Regions from separate parts of the Homo sapiens genome. Here all the other regions are linked to region 4. The links are contacts of gene promoters, found by promoter capture Hi-C in blood cells and fetal thymus (Javierre and others, 2016). All regions are on one chromosome and are shown on one strand. Each heading gives the region's core, a stretch centred on a gene start or on the middle of the fragment in contact. The rest is flanking DNA. Distances are from core to core; before and after follow the strand shown.

Region 1 (3,214 bases), core at 261-2,760, 1.1 Mb before region 4:
TTAAAAATACCTTATTTGTAGTACTTCTGTGGGGACTAAATGAGATGGTAGCTGTAAAAAGCTTAGGACATAAGTCACTTAATACATGGTATCATTACTTCATCATCAGCTCTTCACCTTCAAAAAGTTCCCTCTTGTAGACTGTCCTTACACAGAGTGCAGGTAGCTAAGAGCAGCTTGTATTGTATACCCTACATTTTCTAGTCTGTCCAGAGAAGGATGAGAATTTAATAGGGCCAGATCCTCAGAGGGATGCATTTCTGGTAGAATTTTGTGCATTAGTAGTTGAATGGAAGTGCCATTGTGAGCTTCATGGCTTCCAATATTATTCCACTTAAGGAATTGGCCTGTCTTGCCTTTGGACTGTTGGGTTTTGGGAAATGTGAATTTTTGATTATCAGGATAACAACTCACCCATTCATTCTTTCTTTCCCCCGCTTCTGGTCTTTGTTAACTCTCCTCTGTCCTGTAGTGCTGCCTTATCTTCTGCAAATACCAAGTAATTTGGAATATGGCACTTTGGTTAAGATTGTTTGATATTTGCATGTATCTGCTAAACACGCTTTAATTATGATTCATGACTAGCTCTGGATTAAAATTGTATTTCTGAATTTAAGGTTTAAAAAATTGGAATGCTATTATAGGCCTTTGGTAAGTTTGTGTTGCTAATAGTGAATTATGAAGCGCAAACATTTCTGAGATACAATCCTGTAATTCTTTCATTCTTTGGGATGGGGGGAGTGGGGAGGGATAGCATTAACATGTTAAATGACGAGTTAATGGGTGCAGCACAGCAACATGGCACATGTATACATATGTAACTAACCTGCACATTGTGCACATGTACCCTAAAACTTAAAGTATAATAAAAAAATGATTCTGTGTGTATAAAGATCAAAAGACAGCCAAAACACATCTATGGCAGTGATTATTTTTGCTGTACAGCAGTATGAGGCAAGGATCATCACTGATCTGGGTGGTGTTTCCAGAGGTATGTTCACTTCCCTTTCTGTATGGTTAAAAAGTTACTTTAAAAATTAACACTTAAAAATATGTTTAAGACCATATTTTAGACCTATGAACAGTTTCCTTATACTACCGGAGCATGCTATGATTTGCAACTTAAGTGAAAGCATATATATATGTATATATACACACACGCACACACACACACATTCACTCTAAATGTCTTTTTTAAAGGTATTTTTTTTCTGTCCTGTGATGCTAAAATTAACTAGAAGAATGCATTAAGTAGCTAAGTGGAGAGTGGTTGAGTAGAAAATGCACATGATTTAAAGTTAATTAGATACGGGTTCAAGTTCAGTCTTTGCCATTTATTGGCTACTTAGCACTGGATAGATTTTTTTTTTAATCTGAGTTTCTGTGTATGTAAACAGGGGAAGTAATATTAAACCTGGTTGCTATTGTGATCATGGGAAGTAATAGAAGTATGTTTCTGAGTATGTAGTAGTGTTTCCTGTGCCAACAGAAGCTATCACACAACTGTGTAAACCTATCATTAAACATTGATCTGAAAAAAAAAAAAAAAAAAGAAAAACATTTTATTTTACTATGTAAAAGCAAATTGCGGGGTTTTATTATTATTTTTTCTTTTTTTATTATACTTTAAGTTTTAGGCTACATGTGCACAATGTGCAGGTTAGTTACATATGTATACATGTGACATGCTGGTGCGCTGCACCCACTAACTTGTCATCTAGCATTAGGTATATCTCCCAATGCTATCCCTCCCCGCCTCGTCATCTAGCATTAGGTATATCTCCCAATGCTATCCCTCCCCTCTCCCCCAACCCCACAACAGTCCCCAGAGTGTGATGTTCCCCCTCCTGTGTCCATGTGTTCCCATTGTTCAGTTCCCACCTGTGAGTGAGAATATGCGGTGTTTGGTTTTTTGTTCTTGACATAGTTTACTGAGAATGATGATTTCCAATTTCATCCATGTCCCTACAAAGAACATGAACTCATCATTTTTTATGGCTGCATAGTATTCCATGTTGTATATGTACCACATTTTCTTAATCCAGTCTATCATTGTTGGACATTTGGGTTGGTTCCAAGTCTTTGCTATTGTGAATAGTGCCACAATAAACATACGTGTGCATGTGTCTTTATAGCAGCATGATTTATAGTCCTTTGGGTATATACCCAGTAATGGGATGGCTGGGTCAAATGGTATTTCTAGTTCTAGATCCCTGAGGAATCGCCACACTGACTTCCACAATGGTTGAACTAGTTTACAGTCCCACCAACAGTGTAAAAGTGTTCCTATTTCTCCACATCCTCTCCAGCACCTGTTGTTTCCTGACTTTTTAATGATTGCCATTCTAACTGGTGTGAGATGATATCTCATTGTGGTTTTGATTTGCATTTCTCTGATGGCCAGTTATGGTGAGCATTTTTTCATGTGTTTTTTGGCTGCATAAATGTCTTCTTTTGAGAAGTGTCTGTTCATGTCCTTCGCCCACCACCGATCCCACAGAAATACAAACTACCATCAGAGAATACTACAAACACCTCTATGCAAATAAACTAGAAAATCTAGAAGAAATGGATAAATTCCTCGACACATACACTCTCCCAAGACTAAACCAGGAAGAAGTTGAATCTCTGAATAGACCAATAACAGGAGCTGAAATTGCGGTAATAATCAATACTTTACCAACCAAATAGAGTCCAGGACCAGATGGATTCACAGCCGAATTCTACCAGAGGTACAGGGAGGAACTGGTACCATTCCTTCTGAAACTACTCCAATCAATAGAAAAAGAGGGAAACCTCCCTAACTCATTTTATGAGGCCAGCATCATTCTGATACCAAAGCCGGGCAGAGACACAACCAAAAAAGAGAATTTTAGACCAATATCCTTGATGAACATTGATGCAGAAATCCTCAATAAAATACTGGCAAACTGAATCCAGCAGCACATCAAAAAGCTTATCCACCATGATCAAGTGGGCTTCATCCCTGGGATGCAAGGCTGGTTCAATATGCACAAATCAATAAATGTAATCCAGCATATAAACAGAACCAAAGACAAAAACCACATGATTATCTCAACAGATGCAGAAAAGGCCTTTGACAAAATTCAACAACCCTTCATGCTAAAAACTCTCAATAAATTAGGTATTGATGGGACGTATCTCAAAATAATAAGAGCTATCTATGACAAACCCACAGCCAATATCATACTGA
Region 2 (3,259 bases), core at 686-3,185, 1.1 Mb before region 4:
AGTCACATGAAAATTTGGTTTTCCCGTGCATATAGAATTTATGTTTACACTACTGTAGGTCTGTTAAGTGTGAAATAGCATTATCTCTAAAAATGTAGATAGCTTACTAAAATACTTCATTGCTAAAAAAAATTCTAATAATTAACTGAGCCTTCAGTGAGTTATCTTTTTGCCATTGTAGGGTCTTGCCTTGATATTGATGGTCCCTGACTGATGAAGGTGGTTACACTAAACAACAGATTTTCAATGTAGGTAAAACAGCCTTATAATAGAAGAAGATGCTATCTGGCATTTTCAAAGCTAGAGAGAAGCCTAGCTTCAAACCTTCAAAGGATTGACTGTCTGAATATTCACCAGGATGGAGGTCACTGAAAGTTGGGGTGGCTGTGGTAATTTCTTAAGACAACAATGAAGCTTGCCACATCAATGGACTTTCTCTTTCAGAAAAGATTTCTCTGTAAAGCATGTGATGATGTGCATTTTACACACAGAACTTCTTTCAAAATTTGAGTCAATCCTCTCAAACCCTGCTGCTGCTTTATTGACTAAATTGATGTAATATTACAAATCCTTTGTTGTCATTTCAACAATGTTGACAGCATCTTCACCAGGAGTAGATTCCATCTCAAGAAATCACTTTCTTCACTCATCCATAAGAAGCAACTCCTCATCAGTGAAAGTTTTATAATGAGATTGCAGCAATTCAGGCTCCACTTCTAATTCTAGTTCATTTGCTATTTCTACCACATAGGCAGTTACTTCCTCCACTGAAGTCTTGGACTTCACAAAATCATCCACGAAGTTTGGAATCAGCTTTTTCCAAACTCCTATTAGTGCTGATATTTTGACTTCCATGCATCATGAATGTTCTTAATGGTATCTAGAATGGTGAATCCTTTCCAGAAGGCTTTCAATTTGCTTTGCCTAGGACCATCAGAGGAATCATTATCTATGGCAGCTATAGCCTTATGAAATTTATTTCTTAAATAAAAGGACTTGAAAGTCAAGATTACTCCTTGATCTATGGAATGCAGAATGAATATCGTTAGGAGGTGTGAAAACAACATTCATCTCCTTGTTTATAAGCTCCATTTGAACCCGTGGGTAAACAGGTACATTATCAATGAGCAGTACTATTTTGAAAGTAATCTTTTTTTCTGATTAGCAAGTCTCAACAGTGGGCTTAAATATCCAGTAAATCATGCTGTAAACAGACATGATTGCATCTCGGCTTTGTTATTCCATTTAAGCAGATTAGAATTAGCATAATTCTTAAGGGCCCTAAGATTTTCAGAATGGTCAATGAGCACTGGCTCCAACTTTAAGTCACCGGTTGTGTTAGCCTCTAACAAGAGAGTCTGCCTATTCTTTGAAGTGTTGAACCCAGGCATTGACTTTTCCTCTCTAGCTATGAAAATACTAGATGGCCTCTACTTCCAGTATAAGGCTGTTTCATCTACATTGAAAATCTGTTGTTCAGTGTCGCTACCTTTATGAATTATCTTGGCTATATCTTCTGGATAGCTTGCTGCAGCTTCTCCATCCGCTCTTGCTTCTTCACCTTGCACTTTCATGTTCAGGAAATGGCTTTTCTCAAACCTCATGAGCCAACGTCTGCTAGATTACTTTCTTTCCTTTCTTTCCCTTCCCTTCCTTCCCTCCCTCCCTTCTTCTCTCCCTCCTTCCCTCCTTCCCTCTTCCCTTCCTTCCCCCTTTCCCCCTCTTTCCCTTTTCCTTTCCCTCTCCCTCACCCTCTCCCTTTCTTTCTTTCCTTTCTTTTCTCTCCCTTCACTCCCTCCCCCTTCCCCCTCCGTTTCTTGTCTTGATCTGTTGGCTGGAGGGCAATGGCACAATCTTGGCTTCCACTAACCTCTGCCTCCTGTGTTCAAGCGATTCTTGTGCCTCATGTCCTGAGTAGTTGGGATTACAGGTGTGTGCCACTATGCCTGGCTAATTTTTGTATTTTTAGTAGAGACAGCATTTTACTATGTTGGCCAGGCTGGTCTCAAACTCCTGGCCTCAAGTGATCTACCTGCCTCGGCCTCCCCCAAGTGCTGGGATTAGAGGCATGAGCCACTGCCCCTGGCCCAATGAGACTCTTTTGCATTCTTATCATTTGTGTGTTGACTGGAGGAGCACTTTTAATTTCCTCGGAGAAGTTTTCCTTTGCATTCACAACTTAGGTAACTGGTACAAGAGGCCTAGCTTTCAGCCTTTGTTGACTTTCAATGTGCCTTTTTCACTAAGATTCATAATTTCTAACTCTCTTGATTTAAAGTGAGAGACGTGTTTTTACTTAAAAACTTAGAGGCCATTTTAGGGTTATTAGTTGGCATAATTTCAATATTGCTGTGTCTCAGGGAATTGGGAGGCCTGGAGGAGAGGGTAAAGAAGGGAATGACCAGTTGGTAGAGCAGTCAGAACACAAACATTTATTAAGTTTGCCATCTTATATGGACGTGATTTGTGGTGCCCCCAAACAGTTACAATAGTAACATCAAAGATTACTGATTATAGACCACCATGACAGATAAAATAATAATAAAAATTTGAAATATTGCGAGAATTACCAAAACGTGACACAGAGACATGAAGTGAGCATATGCTGTTGGAGAAAATGAGGCCAATAGACTTAGACTCAGAGTTGCTATAAACTTTCAATTTGTAAACAATGAAATATCTGTGAAACACAATAAAGTGAAGCAGAATAAAATAAGACTGTCTGTATATTATATTTGGTTTTGGCACTCAGTAGAATGCATAGTTCATAGCAGACTAAAATTCCTTTGATATTTGATTTGCTGAATGCCAAATTATACCCACTCTGCTAGAGAACACAGAACTTATTTTCTCTACTGATTTTGAAGCCAATGCATTAAGAAGATACCTTCTGAGTTAGGAGCAGGTGACCCCATGTGCCTCATGGGCCAAGTGGCTCCAGGCACACCAGCAAGGCCACTCAGTGAGAAGTGAAGGAGAAGGGGACGAAAGATCATGCAGATGCACATGCACATGAACTGCCACGGCCACTGGTGGTCTGTTTGTGTTCTTGATCCCATGTCAGGGCTCTTTGAGTCAGCTGATCCTCTCAGCAAGTCTGCAGGCCACAGTGTGGGTAGGTGGGAATGTCCGGTTTTCCTCCATACCACATGCAGGCTCTAGGAACATGTTGCTCTCATCAACACTTTCTTTTCCTATACTTGTTTCCTTCTGTCTATAGTTCTCTTTTTCTTCAATAGCCACCCCATGTTGCTAGATT
Region 3 (3,255 bases), core at 457-2,956, 1.0 Mb before region 4:
GTTCGAACTTCCTGGCTGCTTTGTTTACACTATGAGCATAAAACCACCTACTCCTTGCTAAGACTTGATGTATTATCAGTTCTTATAATTTTAGCCAATCTGGTGAGGATGAAGTGATATTTAATTGTGGTTTTACCTTATAGTACCAATACCTTGTAGTTTATAGTCTAATGGCATCTTTTGGAGAATTGAAGATCTTAATTTAAATGAAGTTGAACTTGTCTATGTTTTTTAAATGATTGGAGTTTTCTGTGTCCGGTTTAAGTAATCTTCCTTACCTCAAGGTCATGAAGATATTCTCTTATATTTTCCTCTGGAAGCTTTATTATTTTCTCTTTCATGTTTACCTCTTTCAAAAGCTGGAGGCCATTATCTTAGCAAACTAATGCAGGAATAGAAAATAAAATACTGCATGTTCTCACTTATTAATTGGAGCTAAATGATGAGAACACATGGACACAGAGAGGGGAACAACACATACTAGGGCCAACTGGAGGGTGGAGGTTAGAGGAAGGAGAGGATCAGGAAAAATAACTAATGGGTACTAGGCTTAGTACCTGGGTATATTAGTCAGGGTTCTCTAGAGAAACAGAACTAATAGGATATATATATATATATATATATATGTATGTATGTATATGTATATGTATATATATGTGTGTATATATATGTATATATATGTATATGTATATATGTGTGTGTGTGTGTATATATATATATATATATGGGAGTTTATTAAGGAGTATTAACTCACACAATCACACGGTCCTGCAACAGGCCATCTGCAGGCTGAGGAGCAAGGAAACCAGTCTGAGTCCCAAAGCTGAAGAACTTGGAGTTGATGTTTGAGGACAGGAAGCCTCCATCACAGGAGAAAGATGTATGCTGGGAGGCTATGCCAGTCTAGCCTTTTTATGATTTTCTGCCTGCTTTATATCCTGGCTGTATTGGCAGCTGATTAGGTGGTGCCCACCCAGATCAAGGGTGGGTCTGCCTTTCCCAGCCCAGCGACACAAATGTTAATCTCCTTTGGGAACACCCTCACAGACACACTCAGGATCAATACTTTGCATCCTTCAACCCAATCCAGTTGACACTCAGTGTTAACCATCACATGGGGTGATGAAATAATCTGTATAATAAATGCCCATGTTACAAGTTTACCTGTGTAAAAAACATGCACATATACCCCTGAACTTAAAAGTTAAAAAAAAATTTTTGTGCATTGTGGAATTTAAGAGTCAAGGTTCCTCTTTCTCCATATAGTTTTCCAATGATCCAGCACCATTTATGGGGACTGGGAAAGGGTCGTTCTTTCCCCTTTGAACTTCAGTGGTATGTAAATTGGTGACAATATGTGTGGGTCTAATTCTGGGCTGTCTTTATTCTGTTCCATTGGTGTATATACCACATTGCCTTAGTTATTGTAGCTTTTTTCTAAGTATTAACATTTGGTTGTGTAAATCCTCAAGTTTTGTTCTTTTTCAAGATTGTATTGGCTTTTCTAGGTCATCTGTGTTTTCATGTACATTTTCCAATAAATGTAGAAAATGTCTGCTGGAATTTTTATTTGGATTGCATTGAATTTATGGATACATTTTGAGGAGAATTGACATGTTAATATTTCTAAGTTTTGGCCGGGCACAGTGGCTCACACCTGTAATCCCAGCACTTTGGGAGGCTGAGGCAGGCAGATCACTTGAGGTCAGGAGTTCAAGACCAGCCTGGCTAACATGGTGAAACCTTGTCTCTACTAAAAATACAAAAATTAGCCAGGTGTGGTGGAACACACCTGTAATCTCAGCTACTCGGGAGGCTGAGGCAGGAGAATTGCTTGAACCCAGGAGGTGGAGGTTACAGTGAGCTGAGATCGTGCCACTGCACTCCAGCCTGGGTGACAGAGTGAGACTCTGCCTCAAAAAAAATTTTTTTTTCTAAATTTTAAAATCCATGAATATTTATTTTGGCCTTCTTTAATTTCTCTCAGCAATCTGTGGTAGTCTTTAGCGTAGTGATCTTATACATAGTTTGATAAATGTATTCCCAAGTATTTGATGTCTTTTATTGCAATTTAAATGCTTATCTTTCTAAAATTATATTTTCCAGTTACTTGTTAGCATATAGTTGATTTTGATGTTCAGTAATTTTCATGTGTTTAAGGATCATTTGGTGTTTCTTTTTCTGAATGTTATTTTTCTATTATATTGTTGTTTTTTTCTTCTTGATCTCTAAGATCTAATAAATTTGGAATAATATTTTGTCTGGGCTTTTAATTATAAACATTTTTCTTAGATTGTCATTTGTGATAAAGTTTAATTTTAAACTTTCCTTATAGATTAAATAATTTAAATACTGGAAGGATCTTAGAAGTATTCTCATCGAACTTTATTATTTTACAATGAGGAGACTGCAACTTAGGATGTTTAAGTGATTAAGGTTCAACTACCAGGTAATGACAGAAACTGAATTTGAATAAAGTTTCAGTTAGTGTTTTGTTCTCCATGATGTTTGCACATAATTAAACAGTACCTTGTATTATGGCATGGTTGATTTTTGTATGTAGGATTTTAAAAATCTTTATAGTAGAGTGTAAAATTTATACATATTGGAAATTGTAGGTCCTTAAAGTCAACTGCAGCAGCACGTATATAATAGGTACCCAATAAAATTTTATTGAATTGAATCATTAAAAGGATAATATCCCATAAAGTGGCCAGGTCTAGATGTTTTAACTGGAGAATCTTGTGAAGTATTTAAGGAAGAAATCATACTGATTCTACACAAACTTTTTCAGAAAACAGATAGGAGAGAACTTCTACCCAACTCATTTTAATGAAGCCAGACAAAGCTGACAAAGACATCACAAGAAAACTATAGACCAATATCCTTCATGGACACAGATGCAAAAATCCTTAACAAAATATTAATCTGAGTCTAGCAACAGATCTCTTTCTTCTCTTTCTGATATTCCCATTGTGCATATGTTACCTCTTTGGTTTCCTCTTTGGTTGTTGTCCAGCAGTTCTTGGATTTTATGTTAGTCTTTTTTCTTTTCAGTTTGGAAAGTTTCTATTGTCACATACTCAAGCTTGGGGTTTTTTTCCTTAGTCACGTCCAGTCTACTAATGAGCCCATTAAAGACGTTCTTCATTTCTACTACAGTGTTTTTGATGTCTGGCATGTCTTTTGGTTCTTTCTTAGAATTTTCGTCTCTCCGCTTGTTACTCATCTTTTCTGCCATTAACCTTAGCATAT
Region 4 (3,291 bases), core at 1-2,500:
CGTTAAATCATTACGTAGTATATGTAATTGTTATTAACCTCATCGTAAAAGGTGATGCTATGATTCATGTTGCAGACATTATTAACTGGAACAAATAGGCGACACTATTTGGTTCGTTCTTATTTTGCAAATGGGCGAATTGAGGCCCGCAGCCATAAGTGATTTGACGAAGACCACAGACTGATTCGGAGACAGGAGGCAAAATGACACAGGAATGATTCACAAGCCTCTGTCACAAGGGAGTTTTCTGCTTGTAACTTATCAGGGAGGCAAATTTTCTGAAATCATTTTTTCAAATCTCAGATCCATGACTTTTCTGTTGAGCAATGCTGCTGCTTCCTCTCAGCCTCCGCCCACCACCACCACTACCATGTTTAGATGTTGTATTTCATTTAAGGATTTTTCAGTTTTCCTTCCTCGCTGAAAAAGTGATACTGAAATACACTACGAAAACTTTTGTCCTCCCTCCAAAACAAATATCTTACCAGTCACAACTCCACCATTATAACAGAATTATCTTCATTTTTTACATAGTCTTTCTTTTTTGCCACAGTGACTTGTTTTTACATAGCTGAAGTCATAATGAGTAGGCTAGTTTATATTCAGACAATTTTATTTACCAATTATAAGGCGTTTTCCATTCTGTGCAATCATCATTTCAAGTATGTTTCTGATTAATACTTGTTAATTTTGGAATGTAATGTACATATATGGAAACTACTGAAGTTATTGAAGTTGTATGTACATACATTGAAACTACTGAAGAAAATCAGCAATAATTCAACCACCCTCGGAATAACTGATGGATTTCCCCAGCCTTCACATATATGCTTCTTATTTTAAGAATTGAAACTAATGCTGCATGAACAGGTTTCTATTTGCTCCCTGCCCCCTTCGTTTAAAAACAAGGTGGAGACTAAAGGCTCTCAGCCTCAGTTTCTCCATATGCAAAATATCAGGATTAAATAAGTCATGCTAAGGGCTGGAACAAAGTGAGGGCTCTGCAGCGTGTACGCCGGGCACTCAGCCGTGGATGGCAGGGGACGGCGTTCTGTCCCCGGGACGGAGCGCAGGCCTGTAATTGTCCCTCCCGCCTAGGCCATCACTTTCAGGCTTGGGTACGCGCCGCCGTCTGCTCCCCTGGGGCCGCCAGGGGGCGCTGTGGCCCCGGTGCGCGGCAGCCGCGCGACACGGGCCCTCCCTCGGAGTCTTCGGCACCGCCCTGTCCCAGCCTCCTTTGCGGGTAAACAGACATGGCCGGCGAAGGAGATCAGCAGGACGCTGCGCACAACATGGGCAACCACCTGCCGCTCCTGCCTGGTAACCGCCCGGAGTAGTTCCCTGTAGTCGGGAGTGGGGCGAGGCTCGGAGCCGCTAGCGGTGCAGCTGGGCCTGGGAGGCGGGCGTGGGGGCGCCAAGCCTGGCGAGCCAGCCCAGCAGGGCCGCACCGGAAAGCTGCTTCACGTCGGCCCTCGGCCAGCGATGGAGTCGCGGCGCTTTCTTCGCTGCTCTGTTGCCCCGAGCCGTGAGCCAGGGTGTCGGGGGGAGCATTTGCTATTAAGAACAGGAAACCCATCCTCTCCATCCTCCTTGTGTTCTGAGTTTAGCTCCTAGGAAATGCTCTGAAACTAGAGGACCGGGTCAGATTCACAGCGGTTACTTTTGCTGGTCTCCTTCCTTTTAATAAGAGTGACAGCTAACATGTACTAAGCACTTACCATGTTACGAGCCGTGCAGTTAACGCTTTGCATGCATGTCGCCTTTTAATCCTTCCCACATCAGTTTTCAGTTTCCGATTTGATAAGCGAGTATTGGATTTGCAGATTAGTTCAATGACTTGCCCAAGGTCACACAGCAGAGTCAGGATTCCAACCCGGGTGTGTCTGTCATTATATCTCTAAACCACTTCTCTGTTTTGTTTTTCTTACTATCGGTCTTTCTCAGGCATGTACGATTATGCTTAATCAGAGATACTTAGTTTTTCTTTTTCCTGTATGTTGTGTGAAATGTTTAGACTTTGGCCTTGTGTTGAAATACTGAACAAAAAAAAAAATGCATGGAATATTGCATAAACTTTTCATGGAATGCCTTTCAAGAGATGCTTTCCAAAAGGTGTATCATCCAAACTTGAAAGTATTACTTGAGTCCCTTCGTTATATGACAAGTATGTTAGGTGTTGTGGAGATGAAACGAGAGGTAATACACAATCTGATAATTGAGGTTTACTGTCTAGGCGGGGCTGCTGAGAATATAACTAAACGTAAATCAACTGCAGAGGCGGTTGATTTAGGGCCAGATAAATGAATGCTGTTGTGGCTCTTCAGAGGCAGAGGTTGTTTAAGGGTCAGAGGATTTGGGAAAAAGCCTTTCAGGTAGATCAGGAGACATCTAAAAGCACATATTTAGGATATGGTTGTGGGACATAAGGCCTAGGAGGTATATTGGGTCTAAGTTGCTGGGAAACTGGCATCTCTTGCCAGTGGGTTTGGGTTTTTCCTGTGGATTGCCAAGAAACAGTTTTAGGTTTCAGGTAATTGCCTAAAGAAATCTATGCTTGGAAGATTAATTTGTCCACTGGTAGCAGCATGGATTAAAAGAGGAAGAGACTGAGTGCGTGCCCACCATATAGGAGAGAACTTTTCTGTAAAAATAAACCATAGTCACTGGTTGTTCTCGAAGCCATTCTAGCTGAGTTGACACAAGGGTAAGTGTGCCAGCCTTTGATGGAAAGCTGAGCTATTTTTTCAGAGACATTAGCCCTACTCTCTGTGCCAAATCCGGTGTTTCAGGGAGAATGGTGAATAGAAGAGGGAGGATACTGATCTTCTGTCGACATTCACATCGTGCCTCTGCATGAGATGAGTCATCAGACTTCACTGATAGCTCTGAACAGTCAGCGTGGTTTTTTGTTTGTTTTTTTTTTGTTTGTTTTGTTTTGTTTTTTGTTTTTCAGAAAAGCGTCGGGAGAGGGCCCAGAGATGGTGTAGATATAGCAATAATGCCTCTCCAAATTACGTAAATTTTATTTGTAGGGAAACACTGGGCTTTCCATAATTCCATGTAGTACGAGTTGTTCTGAAGAGTAAATCCTCTAAGTTCCAACAAAAAGCTTTATATTTGAGATGTGAAGAGTTTATCCTAGGCAAATGAAACATTAATAAACATAACTGAGTAGGGGAAAGTGGTTTTTAGCCATATTTATGAAAAAAAGGTTACTAAAGAAATTATTTAGAGACTAGGAGTCAGAACAGTTAAAATGTAAATTTTTAACAATATTAATTCCAGCCTTTG

The links. The method cuts DNA at HindIII sites, captures the fragments that hold promoters and counts their contacts. A CHiCAGO score of 5 or more calls a contact.
Region 1: a fragment that was not itself captured here is called in contact with the fragment with the promoter of CRBN in region 4 in 7 of 17 cell types (naive B cells, total B cells, M2 macrophages and 4 more); the score reaches 9.1 in naive B cells.
Region 2: a fragment that was not itself captured here is called in contact with the fragment with the promoter of CRBN in region 4 in 2 of 17 cell types (M2 macrophages and M0 macrophages); the score reaches 7.0 in M2 macrophages.
Region 3: a contact is called between a fragment that was not itself captured here and the fragment with the promoter of CRBN in region 4, in 1 of 17 cell types (M2 macrophages). The highest score is 5.8, in M2 macrophages.

Annotation. Positions count from the first base shown.
Region 1 is chr3:4,266,838-4,270,051 of GRCh38, reverse strand. It overlaps a transcript of SUMF1 not described here. Among named protein-coding and RNA genes, the nearest start is that of SETMAR, 35 kb to the left of the region's middle. The HindIII fragment of the contact is 2,894 bases long and covers 64-2,957 here.
Region 2 is chr3:4,248,730-4,251,988 of GRCh38, reverse strand. It overlaps a transcript of SUMF1 not described here. Among named protein-coding and RNA genes, the nearest start is that of SETMAR, 53 kb to the left of the region's middle. The HindIII fragment of the contact is 3,037 bases long and covers 417-3,259 here.
Region 3 is chr3:4,208,575-4,211,829 of GRCh38, reverse strand. It overlaps a transcript of SUMF1 not described here. Among named protein-coding and RNA genes, the nearest start is that of SETMAR, 93 kb to the left of the region's middle. The HindIII fragment of the contact is 2,768 bases long and covers 323-3,090 here.
Region 4 is chr3:3,177,650-3,180,940 of GRCh38, reverse strand. CRBN (cereblon) reads left to right here and starts at 1,250. Exons shown (of 11, transcript NM_016302.4): 1 at 1,250-1,320. The coding sequence starts at 1,254. RefSeq lists a silencer at 1,017-1,186. The HindIII fragment of the contact is 7,719 bases long and covers 1-3,111 here.